Regions from separate parts of the Homo sapiens genome. Here regions 1, 3, 4 and 5 are each linked to region 2. Evidence: promoter capture Hi-C in 16 types of primary human blood cells and fetal thymus (Javierre and others, 2016). All regions are on one chromosome and are shown on one strand. Each heading gives the region's core, a stretch centred on a gene start or on the middle of the fragment in contact. The rest is flanking DNA. Distances are from core to core; before and after follow the strand shown.

Region 1 (2,700 bases), core at 125-2,624, 820 kb after region 2:
TGTTAGGAAATTTAAAGTAGCAGTAACTTAAACAAGTTGTTTAAACTTTATTTTTCTTTCTTATAAAATGAGTAAGTAAATAGCCAATGTAGGGCAGATAAGGCTACTATACAGTGACAGGAGCCCGAATGTTTCCCCATAGTACAAAATGACTGCCACTGAATCTACATTTAGGTCACAAAAAGGAGACAGGTGACAAGAAGAATGCTAACCTAAACATCTAAGGAGACTTCCCAGAAGAACCTCACACATTTTCTTCTTACATTTCAGTACTTTGTCATGTGGCAACAGCCACGTACAAAGGAGATTGAAAAATGTAGTGTTCTATCTTGGTTGCAATGTGACCAGCTAAAAATGGGGCTTCCATTAAGCAAGAGGAGAATGAAAGATGGAATTCCTCTTTAGTAGTATTTGCTACAGAGGTAAATGTAATTTATTTGGCTTCTTTTCTTCTTAGCCATTTTTTCCCCTTAGATGATCTTCCTTTCATGCTGGCATTTGTATGATAGCTAAAAGCACAAGTTTTGCTGTCTGAGGACCTGAGTTAGAATCCCAACCCCACTGTAAATAAACTGTATGATCCTGTCTCCATCATGAGATATATTTGATCCTTCTTTTTTTGTAGGATAATGATTCCTAGCTCTTCTTTTTTTGTAGTAGTGCTGATCCCTAGCTCTTCTTTATTTGTAGTAATACTAATCCCTAGCTGGTTCGCCATTAAATGCACGCTTCTCTCCCTCCAAAGGAGAAAAGAACTTTTCCTGTCTCATTTACTGCTGTATCCTCAGGACTTGGAATAATGCCTGCTAATCAGGAGTCACCATATACATATTTTTTAACTTAATTTTGACAACTAAAAATCCTCTTGCGAAGAATATCTAATAGCACATAATTTATTTTAAAATATTTAGGATTTATCTAGTTAAAAGCAAGCTAAAAATAACATTTAATATAAAATCCTATAAAAATCTTGTAAAAATATATATACCTACATATAAGAAAATGCTGGAAGAGTGTAAACAATGGATTTAGCATAGATTATTTATACAAACAAAATTACATGACAAGAACGTGTGTTTTTCTAGATCCCATTGTCTTATAAAATAAACTATCTGCATTTTTATATTTCAGAATCCTATATATATGGTACAAACATATAAATTTTAAATAGTAGAAAAAAATATCTATTTTGATGTATATTACCATTGTTTTCATATGTGAGTAGTGAAATTACATGTGAGTTTTACTTTCTTTGTGTTCTGCTTTCCAAACATTCTCTAATAATTTTAGGTCTCTAAAAGTATGTATTTATTGCTTTTCCTAGGCAACAAGAGAAAGTATTTTTTTAATTTAGGCCCATATATTTTATATTCTTATTAGGCCAAAGACGTTTTGATTCAATTAATACATTAAATTATATAATAATCTTACTAAGTGGAACAATTTTCTCATTTCAAGAAAAATGTTGTTTACTACTTTTAAAATATGGTAAAAACTGTGGTTGGAAAAAGTGATTTCTGAAATCTCTAAGAGGGTGCAAAGCCTCTCATCACACTCAGGCTACAGACAGTCTGTTTTCTGTCAACATCATTAGATTTGCCTTCAACCCATTATTTTTGGCATTGGAATTGCTCAAGTGCAATTCAAGGAGATTGCAGTTACTGACCCATTGTTCTGAGTCCAGACAAGACCGCTTTCCATCTGAACATGTCTATTGGTCTCTCCTTCAATGAGACACCCATGAAATATTGAGAGCCTTGGGGAAAGTTGAGTGTCCACACATATCATCCCAATGTGTTCCAGGGAAGTTTGTAAACACTGGAGAAGATCTGATAGCACCTGATTCATTCTGAAATTGGGGTTCTGTATGAAGAGTTATTTTAGATGCACAGGATCAGCTCTGCATCCACTTTTCTGACCAGAAACTCTTCCTTAATTTCAAAGAAACAAAAAGATGCTAAAACTATTTTAAAATTTTGTCTATTATATTTCTTTTTCAATTTGGAAACAACAAAAATGGGTAACATGAAAATAGGCTGTAAATTTTCTGTATTTTAATTTACCTCTAACTTTTCCATACCCAGTGCCTCTGAATTTTAAAAATTTTTCTATTTTACTATTCACTTTCTTGCATTTTATTTCTAGTTTCTATAATAAGCTATTCCCATTTATTTTTACCTAAAAGAACTAAGAAAAAAACTAAATATCAACAAATAAAGTAATAGCTGAAATGACTTAAGAGTCAAATACACAGAGAGTCATCTGAAAATTATTGCCAGGATTTGTCTCTGTATGAAATAGTAAGATTCTAGGGTTTTTATTTTTATTGTTGCTCCTCTTTTCCTTTATATTTTATATTTTCTGTTATAATGATGATTTATTTTGTTTTTAGAATATAAAAATAAAGAAAATAGGCATAAAATAAATTCAAAGGAATATAAGAAAAAGAATTCCTTTTATTTAAAAAATTATTTTTAAGCAAAGTAACCTTTTATATTTTCAATTCTGTAGATGGGAATGGGGAACACATGTTTTTTTTCCAATAAATCACTCCTGGTGTGGACATTTACATTATTAAATATAACTAGTGTGCTAGTAATAACAGTCGCTAGATGGTTCTAATATTCATTAGACTTTATCATATTCCTAATAATGAAGATTTTGGGGAGACATATAATTGTTCTGACTCTGTAGGTAACT
Region 2 (2,700 bases), core at 145-2,644:
TGAACAATATTTTCCTCTTGGGTTAACTAAATGAGATACAGGAATATACTTACTTAAGCTCTTAAGTCATTTTCACCAGTACTTGCTCTGTTTCTAGATAATAAACTGATTTAGCATTAAAATCAATTTAAGAAATGAAACCTCAATATATTTTATTATACTGGGATATAATGCAACCAGAGGCATTGAGAAGCATGCATTGTTGTTTAGAAAATATTATGGAGGAATAACATCTTATTATTTCACACTTAAGAGTAGAGTTATAGTGTAGGCTTTTACTATTTCATCTGAGAATATCATTTTTCTTTGTATTGGTAGTCATATTCCAGTTTTTTTAATTCAAAATGTTGCCCTTGAATATTACGATTAATTCATACTCAAAATGAATTTTAAACTTTTCCTTTTATGCACCAGTGAGAATCAATTATCTTAAACAATTTCTTGGTTACTGAGAGACTAAATACATGCATTATTGTTGCTCTACTTCATGTCTCTCTCCTATTATTTATGCTAAATATAAAAACACTAATACCAGTAGGCAGTTTATTGACTTCCCCTGTTATTGCCCTGAATACAGTGAATGCTAAATAGTAATTAAATTATAACTTAATCAAGATGTAGAAATTCATCACAATTTTTTTTACATTTCTTTTTTTTATCTAAGTGAATTTCTCCATTGTCATATAACCAAATACAGTTCCTTTCAACCAAATACAATTCCTTCTCTCTATTTTCCCTTCATCCTGTTGCCTTATTAAAGTAAAATTCTTTGATTAAACCCAGCTAACATTTACTCTGGCCATCTAAGTGGCCAGAGCATATAAATGGGACCAAAAAATTAAACAAAACAAAACAAAAACACACTGTCTTGCTTCACTTCATGTCAATGTCATCCAATATGAGGAAATCACTGCTTGTCAATTCCCATTACACTTGCTTAACGTTTGTTCTCCAACTTTCTAAACAAATTCTTTTTTTCTGTGTCTTCAAATCTGCTGCACCTATACCTATTTTAGCCCGGTCAGCCAATGCATTTGACTTAATACGTTGATAAATGAAAGTGATCAGACAAATACTATCTCATATTTATACATTTCTATTAGTACTAGTTTTCAAAATTGCCTTAAATGACTTTTCATCACTAATGCAATTTTACCATTATTGGACATCTAATTTTATTTAACTTTGTAGTGAAGAGATACATGATTTAAATGTTAAATAATTAATTTTCAGATAAAGGTCTCAAAATTTCATGCTTTTCTGTTTTATTAGTTGCATTTCTATCCACAAACTTGTAACTATTCTTAAATAAAATAGTCTGTCAACCCAATTATGGCTTACCTTTAGGGATTTGCATGAAGCTGTCTGTACAGACTTTTTAAGCTCTTCCTTTTCTCGGGAACTGTAATTTTGCAATACGCTTGCTTGTTTCAAACAGCAACAGCTCTTATATAGGAATAGTCAGACTCAACCTGGGATGTGTCTTCTCTTGAGTATCAGTTTAATTTCTAGAAGGCTGCTTCTGTTTGTCAATCATTCTGATTCATTTTTCAAAACTACTTTAAGTAAACTTATCCTCCTCTTCATCTCCTCATGAGGGGAGTTAATTAAATACCATTTAGTTGTCTAGTATTACTTTCAGGAAAAAGTTAAAAATTTTCCAACTGTGTATTTGAGGCCCCTAATACTTAGTGTGGATTTGTCTGCCTTACTTCTATTCCAATAATTTATCCAGATCCAAATTAACTAGACCTTTAAAAAATATATCATGTGTTTAATCACACGAACATGATATGCTTGATGTCTTCGACATATTGAACGGTGAGATTCTTTTTCAGATGTGGAACCCTCTGTTCCTAGGTTAACTTTTTTTGTGGATATTAAAACATGTTAATTCTGCTGAGAAAATCTATCTATACATTTATTTCATTCTGTGTTGTCTATAAGGCACCAGGGAAATGTATCCAGCTGATTGAAAATGTAATATACCACTCCAAGACGTCCCACTAGACGCAGTCAAGAGGAACATCGCCCACGAGGGACCAGGACATCAGGAAGATTGGTGCACTCCTAGCAAATCTTCAGAAGGAAAGGAATTCTGCATGGGGGTACCACACACAGGAAGCATTCCTGGCCCCCAGTGACTCCTGCAAAAGCATGAGTTGAATGGGCAAGGAGCAACCCTCTCTTTCCATGAGCCTCCGAATCCCAGCAGGAGAAAACCCCTGGACCACAAGTAACACTTGAACTGGCAGGGAGAGATGCTTAGACAAGTGGTAGGGGCAGAACTCCAGCCTGTGTGGAATCCAGAGGGTTTAGTGTGAAAGTGTCTGTAGTGGAGCATGGCCAGGGATGCCCATCCCCCCAGGCTTGACCTGCTCCCGTAGGAAGCTTTAGCCCTATGGGAACTATGGGACCTGAATTCTGCACGGCAGTCTCACCCACTACATGAGGCTATTCTAACTTCAGCACCACTCAGTTTGCTGGCCTCTCCTGGGTCCCAGCTTGGCCCCCAGCCAGGTACCTCCTGGGGGCCACATCATAGCTCCTGTGCTGGTGGACCCCCGGCTGACCAGCAGACTGATCCAGCAGAGTAGCCTGTGCAGACACAGGCCAGCCCACCAGCACCCTCCCTGCACTGCAGCCTCTCGGGCCACTTTGCCTGCACTCACTCACCCATAGCCACCCCCTATTTATGTC
Region 3 (2,700 bases), core at 19-2,518, 750 kb after region 2:
TGAGCCAATTTTCCTAATAAACCCCCTCTTGTAAACCTCTATGTCTGTCTATCTATCTATCTATCTATCTATCTATCTATCTATCTATCTATCTCTCTATCTCCTATTGGTTCTGTCTCTCTGGAGAACGCTTACTAATACACCCTAGAACTAATAACTTCTGAGCACTGTTACCACCTCTATCCTTAATCATACAAGAAGAGAGAGAGGTTATGGGCACTGAAGAAAGAGTTTTGAAAAAGGGTCACCTGTTAGTAGCTATGGTCTAAGGCCATGGATACACCAGTTGTGCCATGTCTGTAGATAAGGAGCCTGGGGGAAACTCTCTGCCTTCACTGTCCTCCCTGCCATTGATAACCATTGGGTAAAGCTATTAAATAGTAAGCAAAGATCCCACTGATGCAAATTAATACAGGTGAACATCCTGGAGCAAAAAAAGGAGTTTAGAAGGATGGAGAATGGATTTGGAGGGAAAAATGAGATACATCCAACATACAACAGAAATATTAGTAAGGAAGTTCGTATGTGTTTTAATATGCAAATATAAACATATGAATATTAATAACACACATAATATATGTGTATACATATTATAGTTAAGCTTCTGCACAACTCAAGGGAGAATGAGAATAAAAATTATAACTAATTACATTTTTCACAAGGGAATCATAGTCTCCAAAATTTTTCCTCCTTTCTCAGTAATAATCCCCAATTCATCAATACAAAATTTAGTTTAATTGCCTTGTTAGCTATTCTCCAAATTGTGAAACCCTGAGGGGTTTCAGGAATCCGTAACCCTGGGAATTCATACTCTGACATAAAAGAATCTGGGAAAGGCAAACTTAAATTCTATTGAGATGATGGTGTTGCTGAGAATTTTAGGTAAGTTGCTTAATTCAAATGTTAAATGTAGATGGAAAATTTTTCTTCTTCCTCATAACCAGTCCAATAACCATTTACATAGTAATATATGATAAGTGCTAAAGAAAGCTTTTCTTTTTTTCTTGAGACAGAGTCTCACTCTGTTGCCCAGGCTGGAGTGCAGTGGAGGTGCCTTCATGGCTCACTGCAACCTCAATCTCCCAAGATCAAGCAATCTTCCCACCTCAGCTTCTGGAGGAGCATGGACTACAGGTACACCCTATCACATCTGGCTAATTTTTTTTTTTTATTTTTTGTAGAAACAAGATTTCACCTTGTCACCCAGTCTCGTTTTGAACTCCTACACTCAGCCTCCCAAAGTGCTGGGATTGCAGGTGTGAGCCACTGCCCCTGTTTTGAAATATATTCATCATCTTCCTGTTTTAATTTCTAAAACTGCTGGCAGCTCACACACAGAAGTAGAATTTCACACTATTAGATTCAAAAAAAAGAGCAATTAACAACACAGAAAATTGCAAGGGAAGAAAAAAAAACAAATGCACAAACAGGCAACGATTAGGAGCCACTAACAAAAGAGATAGTCTTGTTAATATCTCAAGAGCAAGAATGAGAAGAAAGAATTAAATAGAAGATATTATCAGTCTAACGGCCAAAAGACATCAAGAAAAGCTTAACATGTTGCTTTTAAAGTTTGATATTCTTTAAGAAAGTGTGAAGGCATATGGTAATTTTAAGGAAACCTCTAACAATAGAAGCATATCTCTAAATACAAAAAGTTGTATTTTAATAATTTTGGATGAAGAATGCACTTTTAGCTTTTAATATAAAAATATAATATTAGTTAGGAAGGATAGTATGTTAGCTGGTTAGTACTTCCTGCCAGCTATTATAGTCTTCTTGTTCTGATTAAGAAATACAGATGTTGGCTTGTCAAACCATCCTCTCTACCAGTGTACATAAGTAAGTATCCAGGGAAACACAAAGGAAATGTGTGTTTTACCATTTTTTTGTGTGTGTGTGTGTGTGTGTGTCCCAGGGTGTATTATGAGCATTGTTTTTTCCAGTGAGAAGAATTATATACTTTTCTTAACAGTCTCAGAGGTAGCTGAGCTCAATAAAACTCAATTATCTTTTCTGAGTAATGAACCTCAGAGCAAAATATGTGAACGAAGGGATGGAAGAGTCAAAGGGAAAGAGCATCACCCTGGGCTCCCTAAGAATAGTTAGACCTGTGAACTATTGAGCAAAGGCTACTGGTGATGGGATGGAGAAGAGAATGCTGATAGGAGAAGAAAGTACATCAAACTGTCAGTAGGTGATAATATATAAAAATTTAATACATTGAAATATTTTACATAAAAAAACAATCCATCCCAGCATTTTGGAAGGCTGAAGCAGGCAGATCACTTGAGGTCAGCAGTTTGAGACCAACCTGGCCATCATGGTTAAACCTTGTCTCTACTAAAAATACAAAAAAAGTAGCCGAGTGTGGTGGCACATGCCTGTAATCCCAGCTACTGGGGAGGCTGATGCAGGAGAGTCACTTGAGCCTGGGAGGCAGAGGTCTCAGTGAGCTGCCGAGATCGCACCACTGCACTCCAGACTGGGCAACAGAGCGAGACTCTGTCTCAAAAAAAAAAAAAAAAAAAAGCAATCCATTGCTTTACAACACTGTAACATCATTAGTTACGATAAACTAAGCACATTATTTTTCTACCATCATATGAGGAAATTATTATCCCATTTAATAGATAAGAAATAAAATTAAAGCAATTTAAATGAGTTTTCCAAGGTCCCTATTATAGAAATTGTTGCCAT
Region 4 (2,700 bases), core at 5-2,504, 840 kb after region 2:
GCAATCATTAAAAAGTCGGGAAACAACAGGTGCTGGAGAGGATGTGGAGAAATAGGAACACTTTTACACTGTTGGTGGGACTGTAAACTAGTTCAACCATTGTGGAAGTCGGTGTGGCCATTCCTCAGGGATCTAGAACTAGAAATACCATTTGACCCAGCCATCCCATTACTGGGTATATACCCAAAGGAATATAAATCATGCTGCTATAAAGACACATGCACACGTATGTTTATTGCAGCACTATTCACAACAGCAAAGACTTGGAACCAACCCAAATGTCCAACAATGATAGACTGGATTAAGAAAATGTGGCACATATACACCATGGAATACTATGCAGCCATAAAAAATGATGAGTTCATGTCCTTTGTAGGAACATGGATGAAGCTGGAAACCATCATTCTCAGCAAACTATCGCCAGGACAAAAAAAACCAAACACCACATGTTCTCACTCATAGGTGGGAATTGAACAATGAGAACACATGGACACAGGAAGGGGAACATCACACACTGGGGCCTGTTGTGGGATGGGGGAAGTGGTGAGGGATAGCATTAGGAGATATACCTAACGCTAAATGACGAGTTAATGGGTGCAGCACACCAACATGGCACATGTATACATATGTAACAAACCTGCACGTTTGCACATGTACCCTAAAACTTAAAGTATAATAAGAAGAAGAAGAAAAGAAAAGCCTAGGATGTCCTATCTTTCCCCCACTCACCCAGTCCACTTTGCCCTCTTGAAACCAGCAAACCAAGATCCTTCCTCAGAATCTTTGCTCTCTTTTTTCCTTCTTCTCAAAACAATTCTCTCCAAATAGCTGCACAATTTGTTTCATTTTATCCGAGTTTCTGCTACAATATCCTCTCATCAGAAAGGCTTTCTCCAATCATCCTTCGGAAAAGAGTACAGCTGACCCCAACTCAGCCTCGTTCACTTCATTTCTCTTTGCCCAGTTTTATTTTTATTGAAAGTAATTGGTATTAACTAACATTGACTTGTTATTGCATTCACCTACCCCATAAGAATGAGCAGGGATTTTGTAGGATTGTCCACAATATATTCCCAAGCTTCCAAAGAGTTCATTAAAAAATAAGTGCTCGATGAATATTTTCAGACAAATGAGTAAGTGAATAAATGGACAAATACTTCTAAGAGTATGGCTGTAAAAAGGGGAGTTAGGAAATTAATCTAATTTCTTTTAGGGGTTGGATCATGAGAAACCTTATCTTGCACCACATATAAATATCAACCCAAAATGGATTCAAAATTTAAAACCTCAAACTGTGAGATTAATAGAAAAAAAGATAAAGGGTAAAAGCTCCATCACATTAGTCCGGGCATTATTTTTTTGTGTGTTTGTTTATTAGCCCAAAAGCACAGGCAACAGAAGCTAAACTAGACAAATTAAGTTGCAAACTACAAAGCTTCTGAACACGAAAAGAAAAAGTTATCAGTGAAAAAAAACACCCATGGATTGAGAGAAAAGATGTGAAAACTATATATCTGATCAGGTGCTTCATTTCTTCCTTATCCAAAATGTGTAAGGAACTCACATAACTCAACAGCAAAAAAAAAAAAAAAAAAAAAAAAAAAATGGCCAAAAAGGCTTGATAGACACTTCTCAAAACAAGACATACAGATGGCCAACAAGTATATAAAAAATATTCAACATCATTAACAATCATGAAAATGTAATAAAATATCAACTAGCATCTGTTAGAATGAGTATTATCAAAATACAAAAATGACCAATATTGGTAATAATGTGGAGAAAAGATAATCCTTGTAAACTGTTGGTAGAAATGTAAATTAGGGCAGTCATAATTAAAAACAGTGTGGAGATTCCTCAAAAAACTAAAAACAGAATTATCATACATTCCAACAATGTTGCTTCTGGGCGTATGTCCAAAAAAATCTAAATCAATATGTTGAAGAGATATCTGCACTTCCATTTTTATTGCAGCATTATTCACCATAGCCAAGATGTGAGAGCAACTTAAGTATTGATCAATGGATGACTAGAGGAAGAAAAGTTTATGTATTTAGTAGTATATTCAGTCATAAAAAATAAGGAAATTTGGTGACAACATTGATATACCTAGAAACATTATGCTAAATAAAATAAGCCAGGCACAGAAAGTTAAATACCACATGATCTCACTTACACGTGGATTCTAAAAAAAAGTCAGACTCATAGAAGTAGAGAGTAGAATGATGGCTACCGGGATCTGGAAGTAGGGGTGGGGATAAAAAGGAGATTTTGGTCAAAAGATACAATTATTCAGACTATATTAGAGTGAATATCTTTACATAGAGGACAAGAACTAAAAGATTATGAATATTATAGAATGGAAAAATAAATATCACAAGCAATGATGATATGACAATGACAACAACCAAAAGCTATCAAAAGTGAAAAACAGAATAAGAAAGAATTTGGCAGATGGAATACATCCACCCATCTTCTCATCTCATAGGAAATTTCTATCAGAAAGTATTTAAAGTTGACAGCATTCCATGTATATTTTGAAAAGGAAAAAAATTAACCACTAGAACCAACAAGAATAATACAACCTAAAAAATTCTAGAATGACAACAAAAAGACACATAAGTATCCTTTTTGAACATTTTTCTTAGCCTGGAATTAACTGATAAAGTTAAAAAATGCATGATTAACCACTTGAAGAGA
Region 5 (2,700 bases), core at 66-2,565, 800 kb after region 2:
CCCTCCCAAGATGGGGCCAATTGGGATTCCAAAGATAGAAACACTAAACACCAGGGTGATCCATCCAAAGCATTTATTAGAGAAATTTACAAAGTGCTGCAGCAATCCTCATGACAGATGGCAAGAGAAAGGGAGGTTCTGCTGGGCATATGCCCAATGAATGTGTTGGGTTATGGAATTTATAGGACAGTTTAAAGAATTCATCTCAGGACCAGGGCTAGTTTCTTTTCGTATCTGAGACAACAACCTAAACAAGTGTATCAGTGCCTGGAAATGTCCAAGCTTGAGTTCAAGTATGCAGGGAAAAACATGGAGCTGGTAAGGTCACAAGAGCAATCAAGATACTCCATATTTTTTGGTCAAGACAAAGAAAAAATGGGAAAAATAGAGGAACCCCACACTGCCCTTGTAGTCCCAAAGCATCCAAGGACTATTCATAAATCAGTAGTTGTGGTTTATATATTATTACCTTACATGTGGATACATTTTTGGTTATCACACCTGGAATGAGGGGTGTTAAAGGCATCTAATGCAGAGGGCAGAATGTGGTTAAATGTCTTACAATGCAAAGGATATCCCCACAATTAAGAGTTATCCAGGCCAAAATGTCAGTAGAACTGTTGTTGAGAGATTCTAATATAAAGATGGTTGTGTTCCAGCAAAACTTTTTTTATGGATGCTAAAATCTAAATTACAAATAATTTTCATGAGTCATAAAATATTCTCCTTTTGACTGTTTCCAATCATTTAAGAATGTAAAAACCATTCCTGACTTGCAAGTTGTACAAACACAGGTGTCAAGCTGGATTTGATACACAAATCATAGTCTGCTGATTTCTGAAGCAGAATATTTAAAGTGTATTGAAGGAGTAAAACTAAGTATATTTTGTGGAACTCTTCTTCCAGTTGTATATTTGTATGACTCTACTGGGTCTTTCTATATTTCCTTCTGTGGGACATGTTTGAAAGATAGCGATTGGGAGAAATGATTCTTTTGTAAGAAAGAATTTAGATAGCAATATCCCTCTAAATTGTGGCCAATTCATTGTGTTCTCCTTGAATTAGATTCTTATTTAAAAATTATGGTTTGAAACTCTACAGGAAGCACCTTTAAATGAAGACAAGACTGTACAGTTTGGCTGAACTCAACCAAGACTTGACTGTGGAGACCCACACGTAATGTTGTTCAAGACTAAATCACTAAACCTTTGGCAAAATAATCTATGAATTGACTCCTTTGTTCTGATGAGACTTGTCTTTCTGAAGCCCATGGAGCAATCTACCTGTAGGCTCAGGGTAAGCCATGTCATAGCTCCAAAATGTTCCCAGAATTACATGTTTTTCTCTTATTATACCCAGTCTTTAATAAAGACTCATTAGAAGTTGCAGACTGGCCTCAACTATGCTGTGGGTGGCTCTGGATAAGATAGGCTGGTTTGCAGGTTTGGGAAGAAATGGCAGAGGGAAGACTAGCCACAGCAGGGAAGCAGAAGAAACTTGCAGCAATTAGTCCTGGAGCCTGTCAGTGGAGCAGAAGCAGCCAGAGGCAATCAAGGAGGCAGGAGAGCACCAGCACTCATTGTTTCCCCTGGAATACCCTGAACTCCATGGAGAAGAGACACTGGTACAGTTGCATTTCTTGCAGCCCAGAAGAATGAGAACTGGAGTCTATTATAATTTGACATTAAAGGAAAAAGCATGTCATTTTAAGCTATAAGCTAAAATATCCAGGGGATGCTTGGGTTATGCACAGACTCAGCAACAAACACGTCCCTGAATAAGAGGTGCCACCCCATCTTACTCCCCATTTGGAGTTCTTTCCATTGGACAAGTTATTTGTAATGAAATTACTGAGTCCAACTACAGAAGCATTTTAAAGCCTCTTGATAGATATTTACAAATTTATTTTGCCATTTACAAGAACAAAGTGCATTTTACTTACCAAGCTGTGAGATATTTTCCAATGTTTGGTTTAAGCATTTTCTCTGGACATTTTAGTCAGAACTGTTCTCATATATCTATGAGCCCTTTGCAAAAATAGTAAGAAAACTTCCAGGTATGTATTTTCTACAAATATTTTCCCACATTTTAAATTGATTTTTAATTTTTTGACCATGGAAGTTTTATGATATATGGTCAAACCTATCTAGCATGTTTTTTCTACACCCCTTTTAAGCCTAGAAAATACACCAGTACCCCCATATGTTTTGCTAGTATTATGCTTATCTTTACCATTGGTTATCTGAGTCATTTTTCAGAGCAAATATTGACTAAATTCTTTCTTCCTCATGCCCTTCTCATTCCTTTTCTTTAAGAAACAAAAATTTTAAAGATCTATTTTTAAGTGGTAAAGCTTCTCTCTATCACTTCTCAAAACTCAATTTATTTTACCTTAAGTGACAGGAAAGATTTACATTCCTATCGTGTTCTTTCTTTCCCTACATAACATTGTTTTTCAAACTGTAATCCTGGGACAGAACTTCTGCCTATAACTCAGACAAAAGGTTCCATTGTCAAATAACACTGGTTCCATCAATATAAACAGATTTATTTAATGCCATAGTTCTGGAAACACTTTCTATGCTAAAGTTCTTTTTGAGTCACCAAGGGGAGGGAAGGTGGAACATACAAGACACAGTCTTCTCCAAAATACTTTATTATGAATTTGTTTTCTATGTCTACCAGTAACTCACACAGTTG

Evidence for each region. The method cuts DNA at HindIII sites, captures the fragments that hold promoters and counts their contacts. A CHiCAGO score of 5 or more calls a contact.
Region 1: a contact is called between a fragment that was not itself captured here and the fragment with the promoter of OR10AG1 in region 2, in 1 of 17 cell types (erythroblasts). The highest score is 6.8, in erythroblasts.
Region 3: a contact is called between a fragment that was not itself captured here and the fragment with the promoter of OR10AG1 in region 2, in 1 of 17 cell types (erythroblasts). The highest score is 5.3, in erythroblasts.
Region 4: a contact is called between a fragment that was not itself captured here and the fragment with the promoter of OR10AG1 in region 2, in 1 of 17 cell types (erythroblasts). The highest score is 7.0, in erythroblasts.
Region 5: a fragment that was not itself captured here is called in contact with the fragment with the promoter of OR10AG1 in region 2 in 4 of 17 cell types (erythroblasts, M1 macrophages, endothelial precursors and 1 more); the score reaches 8.4 in erythroblasts.

Annotation. Positions count from the first base shown.
Region 1 is chr11:56,785,910-56,788,609 of GRCh38, forward strand. No RefSeq gene overlaps it. Among named protein-coding and RNA genes, the nearest start is that of OR9G4, 39 kb to the left of the region's middle. The HindIII fragment of the contact is 2,975 bases long and covers 1-2,700 here.
Region 2 is chr11:55,968,551-55,971,250 of GRCh38, forward strand. It overlaps OR10AG1 (olfactory receptor family 10 subfamily AG member 1), which reads right to left and starts at 1,395. Exons shown (of 2, transcript NM_001005491.2): 1 at 1,342-1,395. The coding sequence starts at 1,357. The HindIII fragment of the contact is 3,009 bases long and covers 1-2,389 here.
Region 3 is chr11:56,721,822-56,724,521 of GRCh38, forward strand. No RefSeq gene overlaps it. Among named protein-coding and RNA genes, the nearest start is that of MIR6128, 21 kb to the right of the region's middle. The HindIII fragment of the contact is 561 bases long and covers 989-1,549 here.
Region 4 is chr11:56,806,611-56,809,310 of GRCh38, forward strand. No RefSeq gene overlaps it. Among named protein-coding and RNA genes, the nearest start is that of LINC02735, 41 kb to the right of the region's middle. The HindIII fragment of the contact is 357 bases long and covers 1,077-1,433 here.
Region 5 is chr11:56,767,319-56,770,018 of GRCh38, forward strand. No RefSeq gene overlaps it. Among named protein-coding and RNA genes, the nearest start is that of OR9G4, 20 kb to the left of the region's middle. The HindIII fragment of the contact is 2,071 bases long and covers 281-2,351 here.